Regions from separate parts of the Homo sapiens genome. Here region 1 is linked to region 2. Evidence: promoter capture Hi-C in human tissues and cell types (Jung and others, 2019). All regions are on one chromosome and are shown on one strand. Each heading gives the region's core, a stretch centred on a gene start or on the middle of the fragment in contact. The rest is flanking DNA. Distances are from core to core; before and after follow the strand shown.

Region 1 (2,700 bases), core at 59-2,558, 800 kb after region 2:
GCATTTCGGATACATATGACAGGCAGGTTTGATCTTTCCTTCCGGGTATCACTTTCCTTTTGTCCTAACTTCATTACCTTCAAATCCTGCAACAATCTTATCATAGAAATTATTCCATTTCCAACACCCTGAGTCCAATTGCCCGTTTTCTTCAAATCCCTTCTTAATGTCTACTTTCTTATGATGCTTTCCCCACTAATATGAATATAGCTTCAAAGTACGGTATACCTAGGCTTCCTGATTCAGTCTACAATATTATGTTTGAAAATTTATGGGAAAAATTGAAGCTAATTATTTTTGGTTAGTTCTGGGGAGTGTTTGACAAGAAGATATAATTCTCCAAGGCATGGTTCAGGCATTTGTTACAGTAGGAGCCACCTGTGCATCACCCCGACCCGTTCTCCCCATCCTTGTCTTCTCCTATAAGCCTCCAGTTAGAAAACCACTCCTCTCCATGGCAGGTCAAACATCAACAGCCTTACCCTTGGGCTTGGAGTGAAGTCATAGTTCAGCATGCAGCACCCTGAGGCAATCTTGACATCTCTATCACACCACACTTTTTAGTACATATCCACTAGATAGAGATAGGAGTGAATTTCTCTTCTTCCGGAACTTGCTTTATAAGCCTCTGAGCCTTTGCATATGCTGTTGGTTCTTTCTAGAATACCATCCTCACCTGTCACCAATACTCCCACCTCCATAGTTGTCTGTCTGGGAAACTGTTATTCACACTTCGAGTCTCCATTCAAGTCAGCGTCAGCCCCTGCGGAGTCTTTCCAGTCACTCTCAGGCTGACTTTGACACTCCTCTCTGTGCCTCACTGTGCTTTGCCCAGACTCCATGTTGGAGCTCATCTCTGCTTGCATTTGTGTAAGCGTCTGATCATCACTAGATTGTAAGCTAAGAGAAACCAGGAGCCATGTCATTTCATTTCTCTATCCCAGAACCTAGCACAATGCCTGTCATGAGAAGGGTTCAATGAAAAATTTAATGAATGAATGAGTGAATGAAGCACAATTCAACTGAAGCTAAAAGAGGGAACAACTAGGAGGATAATTGTGGTGAAATAATCAACATTCCTCTATCAAGTCAAAATTAAACTGCCTTGCAGTTGACTCAACTTTTTATTATTTTCAATTATTTCTCCAAATGTGCCTCTTCTTAACTATTTTGATGAACACGGCAGATAAGTGTTTAATACCAGTTGTCCCTCATTAGTTAGCTGATTAAAATGACAATATTAAAAGAAACAAGGTATGACTAATTCAGTGTTTTAATAGGAAAAAAAGAACATTTGCATACAAAAATCAGCCTGTGTCAGACGTAAATTGTGCACCATCACACTGATTACCTGCTATGGCCAATGACATGGAAGTTGAAAATAATAGAAATATGATGTGGTATTTAAATTAGTATCTTTCACAGCCATATGTTAAATATATGCTATTTCCCACATGACAAACTGATTAAATAACTTAGATAATGTTTTAATACACATCATTATACAAAAAAGATTAGAATAAACTATGAATCATTCTGTCAACTTGTGATTCAACAGAATAATGTATATTTTTCATGGTTATTAATATTTAGTGTCTTTCAGTAAATTAAAAATCAAGCTTAACAAAGGTTAAAAATATCTGATGACACATAGATGATTGTAAAAGTAATATATATTAATGAACCTTTGAATGACTGACTTTTTTTTTTTGGTTAATCACTCACAGAATTATGTCAAACATATATCAAGACTGGCTCCTTTTTCAGCCAACCTTCCGGCATTTCATTACTATAGTTACCTGATTAATGGATGCAATAATATATATGGCATGATATGATATGTTCGCATTAAATTTTAATCAAATATTACTAAATTCAGAAAACATTAAGTAAATCATGACTGATGAGGCAATATTGCTGTACTGTCATATTGATGATTCTGAAACTTCACTACTGAGAGTAACAGATTAAGCACAAGAAGTGAATTTTATGAGGAAATATAAGTATCTCAACTTCCACAGTTGTGTTTTTTAATTGCTTTACGGCCACCAGAGGAGATGTGAGATCCATCAAGTCTATTGATGTCACAGATCTCATAATTCCCTTTCTTGGTTTCAAAAATTTTATTTGCAGTGATAGAGGGGCCCATTCATTATCTATGGGGGTTTGTTTTTCCTATCATGGTTTTTACCTAAAAGCTATTGTTATTCCATTTATACGAGGCATCTAAAATAGTCAAATTTCTAGAAACAGAAGAAAATGGAATGTGGTTGCCAGGGGCTGGGGGAGGAGGAAATGGGAGGTGTTGTTCAATGGGTATAGAGTTTCAGTTTTGCATGATGAAAAAGTTCTGGAGGTTTGTTGCGAAACAATGTGAATATACCTCCCACTGCTGAACTGCACAGTTTAAAAACGGTTATGAGAGTAAATGTTACGTTATGTGGTTTGTTGTTTGCTTTTGTTTTTGTTTTTATTCTTGAGGCAGAGTCTTGCTCTGTCGCCCAGGCTGGAGCGCAGTGATGCGATCTCAGCTCAATGCTGAGATCACTCCATCCCCTGGGTTCAAGAGATTCTCCTCCCTCAGTCTCCTGAGTAGCTGGGATTACAGGTGTGTGCCACCATGTCTGGCTAATTTTTGTGTTTTTAGTAGAGACAGGGTTTCACCATGTTGGCCAGGCTGGTCTCAAACTCCTGACCTCA
Region 2 (2,700 bases), core at 144-2,643:
CAGGACAGCCAAAGTACATAACAGGACAGGACTGAAAAAAAGTACATCAAAATCTTTGAAATTTTTGAAAATGCTGGCATAAAACAGCATAAGTATTACTGATAAAGACACTGGACTTCTTTTGCATAATGAATCTTAATGTCTTGCTTTATTTTTCACAGTATTATTGAAAACTAATAATTTTGTGTCTGCTAAGGAAATCCCAGATTTTTAAACAAAGATATCAGGTGCCTCCATATGAATGAAATTGCAAATATTCTACCAATTTTGACCTACAAAACTGGCAATTTCATATGGCTTAACCTATTTCTGAAGTAGGTAAAAGAAGGTAGAGATTAAAATAGAAGTGAAGGTCCAGCTTAAAGACATCAGAGTTTTCTTTTAAGACCCTAAAGTTATGGTTAAGAGTGAAAAGTGGTAACATTTTAATAACTGATGCTGCCAAGAAATAATGTTGGTTTAGTAAAAAGTAAAATAAAAAGGTTTCTAACGCATTTTACATGGCTCAAAAGCAAACATCAAACTTCTATCCAATGTCACGTGTACTCCCTCTTTCCTTTCAAATGATTTGAGAAAGAACCCAGTATCAAACCTTCAACTTTTTCTAAAGTGCAGAGGTTGCTGTTTGCCTCTACTCCGCTCCGAACCCCCTCCCCCCAACCAGTTCTGTGTTGTGTGTAGACATCGCTCCATTACTGTGCTTCCCATTAAATCCGTAATAAGCCAGCTGTCCACTGGCCTCGCTGGGTTTCTTGGGAATCGAGGGGCTCCCATTTCCCCGGCATCACCTACACCTGCAAAAAGACAGGCGTCCAAAGCCTGGGGAGGGCAGCGGACAGGTGCGCCCGCAAACGCGCGCCTGGACCCCGGCACCGCCTTCCCAATCCGGACCTCAGCTGCCTGAGAAACTCGGGGGTTCCGATGTCCAGGCCCTTTAGAGCCCCAAGAGCGCAGTCTCCTAATCCCTCCCTTTGTTTCTGGCCACCGCTGAAATAGAGGAGCGGGGGAGAGGCTTTCCCGACTCCTCCACAAAGCAAATGCGCGAGGAACAGAACCCCGGCTCCCTCACCTTCCGCGGCAGGGTCCCTCCCGCAACTCACCTGCTGGGTGGGAAGCCCCGCCAGGCGGAGCGCAGGACCCCTCAGGCTCGGCCCCTCCATCTCCAACGCGAACTGTCCGGGCCGTCGCCACTCCTTCAAAGGGAAGATTTGAAAAGCCCGCCCCTGGCAGGAGCCGCAGAGGACGCCAACCGCCCGGCCGTACCAAGTCCCAGTCGCAGGGGCCGGGGGCGCAGGAGGAGCCGGGCCGAAGCGCACGCGCAGTGGGCGCGCCTTGCGCTCTGCAGCTCCCGCCGCCGGAAGTTGCCGAGACCCCAGGCTCTAGCGCGGCGGGGCGGGGGAGAGGGCGGCGGTGCCGGACTTAAGTCCCGGACAGGGATGTGGGCGGGCCTGGGACGGGAGTGGGAGGGGCCGCGGGGAAAGCTTCGGCGGCGGAGCGCACCTGTCCCAGCTCAGGTTTCTGGCTGGTGGTTTTCGTGGCACGCCCTTTGCACTGGGAGCTTTCTGCCCGCATCCCACCGAAGGCCTTCCAAAGTGATCGTAGCTGGACAGACTCGAGGCTGCAGTCCCTGTACTCCCAGACAACTCAGGAACCCACAGCGTCACTAAGAGCCCACGGTCTCGTTCCTAAAGAACCAATAACATTACTCTCAAACACAGCGCTCTCTGTTTCCTCTCACCTTTCCCAGCGTTGTCACCAGGGTCACCCAGATATCATGGTTTTATTCATCAGGTTCGTGAGATACTATGTCAGGCATTTCACAAGGTCTTGTCTTTGCCCCCAGTGTTTATAATCCCAGATGTTCCCCGCCAACTACTCTGTCCACTTACTTTGTTTTCTTGCGAAGGATTTCTTTCAGCTCTCTCGCCCTCTCTTTCCCTCTCCAACATCTAAGGTGATAGCAAAATGGGGTACTATTTCTCAAGAGCCTCATTTCTTGCTGCCCTAAAGATTAGCACAAAGACCCATTTTAATTCATGGATTTTGTTAATTATAAAGGGAAACATGGGATTTTTAAAAATCAAAATGAAAGCAGCAAAGATATCACACCCTTGAAAAGTCCTTAAAATTCATTGTCCCTAGTTTATCTTTATTTCCCCCTTGAAAAGGCAAGAGGAAGCCTCTTCTTGAAGAGTCTACCAAATCAACCCTCCAGCCCTCATCGCCTAGAAACCCTTGGGCATTTTTCCTCCATAAATAGGTGCCCATGTTTTTTCATTTGCCTGGGACAGACCCTGTCTGGGTCTGTTGTCCCAATGTTGCACCAATCTTGCACTTATCCCGTAGTGGATATTATGTGGTCATTTTAACTGCAAGACCCTTTTAAAAGCAGTTGGTTTGAGAATGTACTTTAAAAATATAATGGATACCCTTCCTCAAATAGGTAAAATGCCTCTTTAAGACCTTTTGGACTAGGTGATACTAGAAGCTTCCCAGTTGGGAATGATGGTCCCCTTGCATTATGAATGACCCATATCCTTACAACAATAAAATATGTGTTCAAAATTATCAACACGGAGCTCACCTCGTTTTCTACAAACACAGGTCTGAATTTCAGAATCATTATGTGCCCTTTCCTCCAATGCACATCTCTGTCTTATGCTACCACTTTGTGGTATAATTATCTCCTACTCAGTATGA

Evidence for each region. Contacts are between HindIII fragments. The study calls those that stand out against the background at their distance.
Region 1: a contact is called between a fragment that was not itself captured here and the fragment with the promoter of RTKN2 in region 2, in 2 of the 25 tissues and cell types used here (IMR-90 fibroblasts and spleen).

What each region holds. Positions count from the first base shown.
Region 1 is chr10:63,066,058-63,068,757 of GRCh38, forward strand. No RefSeq gene overlaps it. Among named protein-coding and RNA genes, the nearest start is that of NRBF2, 66 kb to the right of the region's middle. The HindIII fragment of the contact is 7,418 bases long and covers 1-2,700 here.
Region 2 is chr10:62,267,451-62,270,150 of GRCh38, forward strand. It overlaps RTKN2 (rhotekin 2), which reads right to left and starts at 1,394. Exons shown (of 12, transcript NM_145307.4): 1 at 1,101-1,394. The coding sequence starts at 1,160. The region is part of intron 1 of LINC02621 (long intergenic non-protein coding RNA 2621); the gene reads left to right. RefSeq lists a silencer at 1,146-1,475. The HindIII fragment of the contact is 3,580 bases long and covers 1-1,984 here.